Regions from separate parts of the Homo sapiens genome. Here region 1 is linked to region 2. Evidence: promoter capture Hi-C in 16 types of primary human blood cells and fetal thymus (Javierre and others, 2016). All regions are on one chromosome and are shown on one strand. The core of a region is centred on a gene start or on the middle of the fragment in contact, and the rest is flanking DNA. Distances in the headings are between cores, read along the strand shown.

The links. The method cuts DNA at HindIII sites, captures the fragments that hold promoters and counts their contacts. A CHiCAGO score of 5 or more calls a contact.
Region 1: a contact is called between a fragment that was not itself captured here and the fragment with the promoter of PHF19 in region 2, in 3 of 17 cell types (naive B cells, total B cells and naive CD4 T cells). The highest score is 6.6, in naive B cells.

Annotation. Positions count from the first base shown.
Region 1 is chr9:120,976,024-120,982,203 of GRCh38, reverse strand. It overlaps C5 (complement C5), which reads left to right. Exons shown (of 41, transcript NM_001735.3): 27 at 265-360; 28 at 1,950-2,121; 29 at 5,299-5,504. Among named protein-coding and RNA genes, the nearest start is that of C5-OT1, 26 kb to the right of the region's middle. The HindIII fragment of the contact is 677 bases long and covers 2,112-2,788 here.
Region 2 is chr9:120,875,692-120,881,581 of GRCh38, reverse strand. It overlaps PHF19 (PHD finger protein 19), which reads left to right and starts at 4,394. Exons shown (of 15, transcript NM_015651.3): 1 at 4,394-4,491. RefSeq lists enhancers at 3,595-3,644, 3,905-3,954, 4,966-5,557 and silencers at 4,075-4,354, 4,595-4,644, 4,925-5,374. The HindIII fragment of the contact is 7,264 bases long and covers 1-4,893 here.

The DNA of each region.
Region 1 (6,180 bases), core at 1,201-3,700, 100 kb before region 2:
CCCGTCTCTACTAAAAATACAAAAATTAGCCGTGCGTGGTAGTGCACGCCTGTAGTACCAGCTACTCAGAAGGCTGAGGCCGGAGGATGGCTTGAACCCGGGAGGCGGAGGTTGCAGTGAGCCAAGATCAAGCCATTGCACTCCAGCTTGGGTGACAGAGTGAGACTCCATCTCAAACAAACAAACAAAAAACAGAGTAGAATCAGGTCATTTCGCCTTAAAGACACCATTTCACTCCCCTTTTAAAACATTGCTTCTTTTTAGGGTACCTTGCCTGTTGAAGCCCGAGAGAACAGCTTATATCTTACAGCCTTTACTGTGATTGGAATTAGAAAGGCTTTCGATATATGCCCCCTGGTGGTAAGTAAGAGTTTTCTTTCTCTCACACCCATCATCTATTTCTGTACTATATACTGGAGGGGCCACCAATCAGAAGACCTTTTGTTTCAAAAGCTTCTTTTCCTTCTTTCCAATAACTTGAAAATAACTTAAACTCCAGAATTGAAAGATTTCAGAACAATGATAGATATTAGAGACCACCTAGTCCAACCTACTCATCGGCAGTTGAGAAAGCTGAGGACTAAGTAAGGTGAATTCAGTTTCCCAGTGTCACAGGCTAATAAATTGTAGAGCTGGGTCTAAAACTGATAGCTGGGACTGGGATGGAAGAATGATCCAGTGCCCCCAGCTTCTCTGTCTTATCTTTGCTAAATCCTGCTTTATATGTTACTGTTATCCTATAGTGAAAGCATTCTGTATCATGCAAGTACTGAGGATACACAACAGCAAATGTGTATCCTCCAAATCCTTCCAAACAACATTTGCTTGGAAACGGGAGAAAAGTGATGAGCCACCTAAGTAAATCAACATAGAAGATTTCCAAGGTTGAGATGGAAAATCTCAAGTGGATTTGCAAAACTGGAAGCACAAAACAAAACCATTTGTTTTCAGTTTGTTTCAGAAGCTTAACAAGACAAAATAATCAATGAAGACTAGTTCCCAGGCACCTAGTGGCCACATGGGTGAGAGATGCATGTGGAGCTGGGAGAGGAGGCAGGCAGGATGTTAGCAGCATCGCAGCAGGCTTTCTGCTGGCCCACTTGCCCAACACAACCATTTTGGTGGCGTCAGGACTAGTGATCGGGACTATTTACCCAGGCATTCTTAGGATCTAAAAGTACTGTGGCAGTTAGGGTTTCTTTCTGCTACTTATTGTTTTATTTATTTATTTTTTTAAGTGTAACTCCTTTTGAACCTGTGTGCCTGTTGCAACTACGCTGAGAGGGAACAATAAAAGTTGTGTCTATGGGCCGGGTGCAGTGGCTCACGCCTGTAATCCCAGCACTTGGGAGGCCGAGGCGGGCGGATCACAAGGTCAGGAGATTGAGACCATCCTGGCGAACACGGTGAAACCCCGTCTCTACCAAAAATACAAAAAAAAAAAATTAGCCGGGCGTGGTGGCGGGGCGCCTGTAGTCCCAGCTACTCCGGAGGCTGAGGCAGGAGAATGGCGTGAACCTGGGAGGCGGAGCTTGCAGTGAGCCGAGATCGCAGCACTGCACTCCAGCCTGGGCGACAGAGCGAGACTCCGTCTCAAAAAAAAAGAAAAAAAAAGAAATTGTGTCTATGCTCGGTGCCTTTTCTTCCTGGAGGCTAGGTCTGACGGTGTACTCAGAAACTAAAGGCACAAAACCTCTAAAAGGAAAGTGAGAATTCAGAGGCAAAAAGCTTAACCTGATTTGGACAACCTCATTGTCCCTTCCAAGATTATGCTCTGCTCCTTCTCTCGGAGGGATTTGCTTCACTGAGAAGCCATCCATTTCCATTAGGTCAGTCCTCTTTTCACCCCCATATTGCTTGCTCCAGGATAGTGGGATCTGAGGGTAGTTCATATCAATTGATAGGTGGTTGCTTGACATAGAAACTGAAGTATCTTCTCTTGTTTCCAGAAAATCGACACAGCTCTAATTAAAGCTGACAACTTTCTGCTTGAAAATACACTGCCAGCCCAGAGCACCTTTACATTGGCCATTTCTGCGTATGCTCTTTCCCTGGGAGATAAAACTCACCCACAGTTTCGTTCAATTGTTTCAGCTTTGAAGAGAGAAGCTTTGGTTAAAGGTATAACTTGTTCCATACATGTATTCAGTGAGTGTTCACTAAGACATAAAGTCTGCTAGTCTGGGAAGTGGGTGGTGACATGTGAACTTGAGTAAGATGCAATTCCTGTCCTCAAGGAACAAACCGTCACAATACGATGTAATGTGTGCCGTTATTCATTCATTTATTCATGCATTCATTCAGCAAATATTTATTCTTTTTTTTAAGACAGGTTCTCGCTCTGTCACCCAGGCTGGAGTGCAGTGGCATGATCGTGGCTCACTGCAGCCTCGATCTCCTGGGCTCAAGTGATCTTCCCACCTCAGTAGCTGGGACTACAGGTGCCCACCACTGAACCCAGTTACTTTTTTTTATATTTTGCAGATACGAGTCTCACTGTGTTTCCCCGGATGATCTCAAATGCCTGGGCTCAAGCACTCCTACTGCCTCAGCCTTCCAAAGTGCTAGGATCACAGGCATGAGCCACCACACCTGTCCTCTATTTATTCCTTTATTCAATAAATATGCATTGAGTATCCTATGTACACCCTGGACACCCCCTATATACCTGGCACTATTCCAGTCTCTGGGAATAAAGGAATAAACAAAACAGGCTCCCCAAAATCCAGGCCATCATGAAACTTAAATTCTAACTGGGGAGACACAAACATGATAAATAAATAAAGCTTTATGAATAGATGGTGATGGCTGATATGAAGAAAAATAGAGCAGGGAAAGAAAATAAGGTGAGAGGATGCATTGTAATTTTAGACAAGCTGACTGGGCTTAAGTTTCACTAAGAGGATGGTGTTTGAGTCAAGAGCTGAAAGGAGGTGAAGAAGCAATTCCTGTGGCTATCTAGAAGGAAGTACCTGGTGGAGAACAGCACGTGCAAATGCCCTGAGGCATGGGCATGCCTGGTGCTCCAAGAATGGCAAGGAGGCCAGTGTGACTGCAGAGGAGTGAGAAGAGGAGTAGGAAGTGAGGTCAGGTAAGGAAAAAGTGAGGGAGCAAGGGAAGGTCATTTAAGGCATTAGAGAGACTCTTCAGGGCTTCTGTAAACAGTTGTGCCGTGGACAAAGTACCTAAGCAATCAAGTGAATCGAGGCTGAAATCTAGCCTGTGCTCCACTCCCCCGGCCACATACCCTAGTTTAGGGCTGCTTCCACCTAGAGCAAGGAGTGCCCATGTCTTATCCACAGCAATGTGCTGTGGGGACCAGAAGGAGCCCTAGAACTTTAATTTCAGCTTTGAGAGTGAAAAGGGGAGCCACTGGGGGATTTTGAGCAAAGGAGTGCATGACCTGGCTTATATTTTACCAGGTTTGCTATAAAAGTATGTGTTTGGTTTTGAAGAATAAAGATACTGCTTCCTATAGGTCAAGAGACAAAAAATAGAAAGAGAGTAGCAGTGATTATTAGCATGGTTGGGCACTTTGGAGTCCTCTTCTAGCTAAGGCTTTATAAATCTTACTGAGGTTTATGACCATCTACAAAATATGATTTGTGCCATCATTTTAAAATTACTATATTTTAACATATGCCTCAAAACCACTTGTACGATACTTCAAAAATAACACAAAAGAAATGTCTTGGGTATTGTGAGATATGGGTCATAAAATCATAAAATTTAAGATCTAGAAGGGAACTTAATAATCCAAGAGTTGTTCCAGTTGGGTTTCTTTAAAATCCTAAACTCAACTCTTCATTTTAAATACAGCAAATCTGAGACTCTGAGAGGAAGGGTCAATATCATTTTCAAGGTCATGCAAATAATGTAGTTATGAATTATAAACATACACATCAAAATTTTTACTAACCTTCAAATATGATTTCCAAATATGCATTACTTTTTTTAAAACAAATAGTTTGTTCCAAAAAGGATTTGAGGTTTACAGGTTTAAATAACAAATATAATTTACAGCCTAATTTATGAAAAGTGCTGCATGTACGAAATTGTCTTGAGTGCTTTAAATTGGAAAGAAATAATGAAAGACTGAACTAAGGCTTTAGGTTTAATCTCATAATTTCCAGGATGTAAATTTTCCTATCAGGAAAAAGGTTCTCCAGTTTATTTTTTAGTGTCAGTAATAATAATAATAATAATAATCCCTTATATATGCATGGTGCTTTCTAGTTTACAAAATCTTTTACTTTAGTATTTCATTTGAGTTTCACTGCATGGAAGAAAGTATTATCTATACTATAGGTATTAGGAAATTGAGTCACACAGAACTAAAGGAATTTGCCCAAAGTGACATGGTAAGTTAGCAACAAAAGAAAGACTAGAAGCTGGGTGCAATACCAGTTTATTGCACTTTCGACTCTACTAAACTGCCCCTTCCTAGTACATGTGTACTATGTTGATTTTAAAATACAGATTGAGGCCGGGTGCAGTGGCTTATGCCTGTAATCCCAGTACTTTGGAAGGCCAAGGTAGGAGGATTGCTTGAGCCCAGTAGTTTGAGACCAGGCTGGATAACATAACCTGGCATGGTGGCACACCCCTATAGTCCCAGCCACTCAGGAAGCTGAGGTGGGAGAATCACTGAGCCCAAGAGATTGAGGCTGCAGTGAGCTACAATCACACCACTGCACTCCAGCCTGGGTGCCAGCAAGATCCTGTCTCAAAACACACAAACAAAAAAAACAAAAAATAGGTTGAGTGTTCCTGATCTGAACTGCTTGGGACCAGAAGTATTTCAGATTTCAGATTTTTTTCAGATTTTGGAATATTTACATATACATAATGATATATCTTGGGGATGGGACTCAAGTCTAAACATGAAATTCATTTATGTTTCATATATACTTTACACACAGCTTGAAAGTAATTTTACACACTATTTTCAATAATTTTGTGCATGAAACAAAGTTTTGACTGCATTTTGATTGTGACCCATCACATGAGGTCAGGGGTGAAATTACCCACCTGTGGCATCATGTCAGAGCTCAAAAACTTTCAGATTTTGGGGGCATTTCATATTTCAGATTTTCAGATTAGGGATGCTCAATGTGTAAAGACAAGTAATACCATATTAAGGGATCTCGTTTTGCATTGGTCATCTTCAGGAAGTTCCTCTAACAAGAAAAAGTAAGTAGCTTCTAGAAACTGGAAGGCCATAATACACCTGGTAGAATTATTATGTCAAATTCACATTTTTAATCATATTAATGAATGGAATTTGTTGATGTTCAGGTAATCCACCCATTTATCGTTTTTGGAAAGACAATCTTCAGCATAAAGACAGCTCTGTACCTAACACTGGTACGGCACGTATGGTAGAAACAACTGCCTATGCTTTACTCACCAGTCTGAACTTGAAAGATATAAATTATGTTAACCCAGTCATCAAATGGCTATCAGAAGAGCAGAGGTATGGAGGTGGCTTTTATTCAACCCAGGTAACATTTCTTTGTCTTGTTTCATCTCCCTGTAGACATTTTTATTTTCTCCCCCACCACACTCATCTGGCCTCCATGCCTTTGTCCACCAAATGAGCATGCAATAGATATGAATAATGCCTAGAATTGAAGGACCCCTACAGGTTATCTGCGTCAACACTCTTATTATACAGAAGAGGAAATTAGCCCAGGGAGTTTTACTCAGGGAATTCATGGCAGAGCCAGAATCAGAACTCATGTCTCCTGACTTTAAGCCCAGTACTTCCTTCATGATTCTAAATCACCATGAAAGGCTAGTAAGGTTATTGGCAATTATATCATATCCTATGTAATAAATAGTGGTTGCCATGTAGACAAAGGTACTGATGCTCCTTCTCCACAACGAAATAAATAAAAAGTGGGAGAAATACTGATTGTTACATGTTAATCTATCTAGCTATTTAATGTAAACTCATTTGAGTATGTATTTTTATTACAACTAATTATTATGTAGTCGTATAATACATGTTTATATTCAAAGTTTAGATCGAATGTTAATATCTTCCCTGTTGCCTGGATGTTTAGATAATGATGGAGTGTGTATATTTATATATATGTAATTTAGATGTAGAGAGGGCCTTCAGTATTAATTTACTGACCATGTAATGTGTTTTATTTTGGGTACAATTATAGGGTT
Region 2 (5,890 bases), core at 3,145-5,644:
GGAGAAGGATCAGAGAGAACAACTATGGATCAACCACCCAGCTCTGTTACATCTTGACACTTGGTCATACTTGCCTCAGATTTTAATTTTTTTTTCTAAGAAATAAAACATACAGATAGAATTAAACCCCCTGTGGGCCAGGCACGGTGACTCACGCCTGTAATCCCAGCACTTTGGGAGGCAGAAGTGGGCGGATCACGAGGTCAGGAGATCAAGACCATCTTGGCTAACACGGTGAAAGCCCGTCTCTACTAAAAATATAAAAAATCAGCGGGGCGTGGTGGTGGGTGCCTGTAGTCCCAGCTACTCGGGAGGCTGAGGCAGGAGAAGGGCGTGAACCCGGGAGGCGGAGGTTGCAGTGAGCCGAGATCGCGCCACTGCACTCCAGCCTGGGCAACAGAGCGAGACTCTCTCAAAAAAAAAAAAAAAAAACAAACCCCCGATGTGCTTCCTTCTGATCTCATTCCTGTCCCTCCCTTCCCAAAGGTTACCCTATTCTAAATCTAGGGTCTTTGATTTCCCATGCATGTTTCAATACTTTTACTAGCTGACTGTAGCCCCAAAATGTCTACATAGCTTATTTTGTATTTCTTTGGGTTTTTTGTTGTTTGTTTGTTTGTTTTTGAGAAAGTCTCTCTCTGTCACCCAGGCTGGAGTGCAGTGGCACAATCATGGCTTACTGTGGCCTCAAACTCCTGGGCTCAATCAATCTTCCCACCTCAGTCTCCCAAGTAGCTGGGACTACAGGTGCATGCCATCATGCCCAGCTAATTTTTGTATTTTTAGTAGAGATAGGGTTTCGCCATGTTGCCCAGGCTGGTCTTGAACTCCTGGGCTCAAGCGATCTTCCCACCATAGCCTCCCAAAGCGCTGGAATACAGACTTGAGCCACGGGCCCAGCTGAATGCGTTAAGAAACATTTTTTATCATTTGTGTCACACTGTACCTATGCTACAACTTGATGTTAGTTTTTTTCCTAGGGTGTAACTATGTTGAGGCTGCAGACTTAGTTTATTTTTACTCCCAGTATATTATTCCATTGTATGACTACATCACAATTAATCTATCTGGTCTGCTGTTTGTTTGTTGAGACGGAGTCTCGCTCAGTCACTCAGGCTGGAGTGCAGTGGCACGATTTCGCTCAATGCAACCTCCACCTCCCAGGTTCAAACAATTCTCCTGTCTCAGCCTCCCAAGTAGCTGGGACTACAGGCACACGCCACCATGCCCGGCTAATTTTTGTATTTTTAGTAGAGACGGGATTTCACCATATTGATCAGGCTGGTCTCAAACTCCTGACCTCAAGTGATCCACCTGCCTTGGCCTCCCAAAGTGCTGGGATTACAGGCATGAGCCACAGTGCCTGGCCTATCTGGACTGCTGTTCATGGATAATTCATTAATTTCTAAATTTTCACAATTATGCGCTGAATGACGAGTGGAGTCATTGAATTGTAGCTATGAGTATCTTCCACTTTCTTACAAGTTGCCAAACTGTTCTCCAAAATCGTTTTACCAGTTCATATCTCCATAGGTATTTGAGGGTCCCAACTGTGCGACATCCTCACCCCCCACCCCCCTATATTGACAGACTCGACTCCGTGCCCATCTGGTGGATGTGTAATGGTGTATCACAGTTCTCTTCATTTGCGTCTCTCACGTGGCCAATAAGGTTGAGCACCTTTTCACATTTTAGGCTATTTTAGCCATTTAGGTTTCCTCTTTTGTGAGTTGCCTGTTGATATCCTTAATCCATATTTAAAAAATTGGATTGTTGGTCAGCCCATTAAACTCCCTCCACCTGGCACACCCACCTCCCTATTTCCACAACCTAACTGATTGCTACTTTTTCCGGGAAACTTGTTCTCTTTCCTCAATTCGAATTTAGAGTTGCCTCTAAATAATCACTGGTGACACCGTACCTTTCTTGTGGCATTTATAATTTCCTGTTCTGTAGTGTTTTAACTTCTTATTTTGCATATCAAACTTTTTAGTTTACAAAAGCACCTGCTCCTTCATTGTCTTATTTGAACATTTATGCAACAGCCCCACGAGATGGGTAGTATTATTACCCTCTTTTCAACCGATAAAGAAACATGGTGTAGGAGGGTCTAGCTAACCCAAGACCCCGCCCTGGCTCAGAGGCAGAGCTGGACTTGAAGCCAGGACAATTCAATTCCACGTGCAGCTCACAGCACAATCCCCTCTTATTTATCTATGCATCAACACCGCCTCCTCCACGAGGTTGCCAGTTCCTTGTCTCTCATCCACCTGTGTGTCTCCCATCCACCTGTGTGTCTCACATCCCCCCGCTCTAGTCCCACACAGTGGGGCAATCAAGATTCTGAATACAGAATTTCTTAACAAAGTATTAATACAATGATCACTTACTGCACACCTACTGGGCACCAGGGGCTTTGCATACATTAACTCTAACCTTCCCAATAACTCTATTTAGGTGAGGACACGGAGGCTTAAGACTTAAAGTCTCTGGAGCAAGAATTGTTTAAAAAAAAAAGAAAGAAAGAAGTGACACACTCAGGCTCCCATGGCCAGTAATGGGTGGAGCTGGCCTGTAGCCTCAGAGGTGAGCACTTCGCTCTATCATCTCTGTCCCCCAGCATCCTGAAGGCAGACCCAGCCAGCTTAGAAGCTAGTGGGAGTGTTCTGCTCCCATCATCAGCCCTACCCGCGTTGGACACACCTTCTCTTGGCAGAACATGGTTAAGTAGCACAATCCTAGGGCCCCTTTGGGACTTGAAAATGTGCTCTCCAGGATTGGGAGATTTTGTGCCATGGGGCTGCTCCCAGGCTTTCCTTCCAGGTTCAGGCAGGTACTCAGCAGTGCTAGGTTCTGCTGAGGCGCCAGGATCCAGAATGGGGCAGTGAGGCAGGTGAGAGCAGGGGGATCAAGGGGCAGAAGGAAGTGAGGAAGGAGGTGAAAGGACTCCTGGATCTCTGCTGAGAAGGTGAGGTGGGGGGCTGCACAGATCATGCTCCAAGGCCAGGAGGCAGAGGGCCCAGAGTGAGCAACTGACAGTGAACAGGGAAGGCTCTGGGGGAAGGTGCTGTCCACTGGCCACACCCATGAAAGCACATATCCCTGTCTGGTGGGGGTGTCTGCAGAGTGGGATGGTAGCCACAGAGGTGGGCGCTGTGGACTGAGGGCAAGGATGGGGGTGGGGTTATTGGTAAGTGTTCTTCCTCCCTTCCCCCAAGAGTGAGTCTGGGTGGGGCCATGTCTGCCTTTCCCCCACAGGGCAGGGTCCCTATGATTGGAGCTCTGCCCACTGACTCCATCTGCCATTCCTATGACTCTGTGCATGTTGTCTTTCATTGTGTGCCCTTTATTTACATGACATGTTGTGCGTGTGGTATATATTTGCGATTGTACCATGTATTTCTGTGCACTGTGTCTCTACGCAATTTGTTGTTTGGGGCTATTTCGGCCATGTAGGTTTCCTCTTTTGTGAATTGCCTTTTGATATCCTTAACCCGTATTTTAAAAATTGCATTGTTAGCCCACTGAATTCCCTCCACCTGGCACACCCACTAACCTATTTCCACAACCTATCTGAATGCCACTTTTTCAGGAAAACTTGTGTCTCTTGCCCGTCTGTGTTGTGACTTTATGTGTTATGTCCGTCTACCTTACATGCATGTTCTGTTGTGTGTCTCTGTTGTGTACAGTGTGTTCCCCCTTGTGTATCTATGCCTATGGCTGGTGTGTACAGTACTTCTCTTTGTGGTGTGTTTGTGTCCTGTACATGCTGTGGTGTGTTCTGACCTGTGTCGGAACAACATGCGTTGTGCACTGTGTGTTGTGTATCTACATTATACTTGTGCTGTGTCTCTGTGCCGAACGCCTGTGCTGTTAGTGCAAGGTGTTGTGTGGCCTGTTTGGGCGTCCTGGGTCTGTGTCTGCGCCAAGGGTCCGCGCCGCCCTGCTGTGTGTCTGTGCCAGGGTCCGCCGGTGCCTGCGCGCAGAGCTGTGTTTCCTCAACAAGTGTGCGAGCGGTCGTGTGCGCCATGAGCGCTGCCTGGCGTCTCCGTGTGCGCCGCGGTGTGGCCGCTCCTCGGCGGGGGGCCCGGGTCCTGGCTAGTGGCCGCGGAGGATGCGCGCCCGCGGGGCGGGCGGGGGCGGGCGGGGGCTGGCGGCGCTGCGGAGCCCGGCGGCCGCGGGCTCCAATGGCGAGGCCGGCGCGGCCCCCGCTAATTACATAAGCGGGACGTCAATAATTCGCGGGAAAACGCGAAAAAGATGGCGCCCCGCGCCCGGGGGGCCCCTTCCTGAGCGCCCCGGCCCCTCCCTCCGCCGCCTCCCCCTCCTCCCCGCGGCGCCCCCGCCCCGCCCCGCCCCCGCCGAGACCCCGACCCCGGCCCCACGGGCGGACACTCGGCCGGGCAGCCGCGGGCCGAGCGCAGCCGCCTCCGCCACCGATGCGCCTGGTGGCCAGACTCCAAGTGGGACCGGCGGACACGCAGCCTCGCGGTGAGTTCTGCGCTGTTGGGCGGACTCCCCGCCACGCTCTCCCCTCCCGGCCCTCATCCCTCTCTTTTCGAAATCTCCCTGAACTTTGGCGGCCCGAACGCCTCCGGGGGGTGAGACTCCTGCGGAGCGGGGCTCTCGGGGGTGGGGACCGGGGGTGCAGGTTACCTGCGGGGCAGAGGGGCCCCACCCGGGTTCCCGAGCCCCGGGGGGCATGGGTGACAGGTCGTTCTTCCTCGCCCCCGATCTTTAATTTTCCTATCGGGGTGGGGGAAGGACAGACGGGCGTTTGGCATTTCGCTCACGTCCGAAGTCAGGCTGCGGCAGGGTTGGGATGGGGGAGGCTTGGCGTCCGAGCGACTGAGGAGAGGAGCGCTGAACCCGAAGGGGGTGCTTCTGCAAGCTTTTTCCCCCCTCCTGAACATCCTTTTTAAAAAGCCAACGGCCGCCCTGGGAGAGGCCCCGGCGCATGAATCATCCTCGCTTCCTGCCCCCGCCCGGCCCCGCGCTCCCGGTGCCGCGGATTTGAACTGGACGCAGACGGGAACCCGCAAACAGGCATTTCTTTGCAAATGGGTTTGAATCAGCCAATCACAGCCCGCGGGGGCCCGCTCCGGGAGGACGGAGGCGGGGGCTGGGGGGGCGCCACCCGGGGGCCCCCGCCCGGCCAGGGTGGAGGCGGGTGCGGCGACCCGGCCGGCTCCTAGAGGCGCAGCGGGAGAGGAAGTGTCAGTTTGTGAACCTGCAGCGGCCCCGGCCTGGCCCCTGGCCGGGCGGGCGGGGACCTCGCAGCGCCGGGCGAGCCAGGTGGCAGGGAGAGGACAGGGATTCAGACCGCATCCCCTGCCCGGGAGCCTGTGCGCTCTGCGCTGGAGAAAAAGGAGATGGGAGTGGGGGTGGAGAAGGTCGTGGCCACGCCACCATCTGGGGAGCCGAGACCCCTGCAGTGCCTGGCTCGCCCCAGGGCCCCGCACATACTTAGCTTCACACACTCCCTGGCACAATGCCGTAGACATCATCCTGCCCAGTCTCACAGGAGTACACACACGCACCACACAGAAACAGGCACTGGACTCTCTCCCTGTGAACAGATAGTCACAACACCAGGTGCCCAGCGCCATGGCCACAAGGAGGAGACCCGAGTAGGCCCGCGGGGAAAGAGAGAGGCTGTGTGTGGCTGTAGTGGAGAGCATGTGGAGGGACTTGGAGCCAGGTGAGCCCAGCAGAAAGGAGGGGGCGTTAGGGACGGCTTTGAGCACCAGTGAGGGCAGTGGGGAGCCCCAGAAAGTTTCTGGAAGGAAATTGGTGGCCCTGCGGAAGAGTCTGGTGGAGAGGCAGGAATGCAGGAACGGCCTGTTTAGCACTGGGTGCTGGTAGTACCGTTCCCCACCCTAGGTGCCTA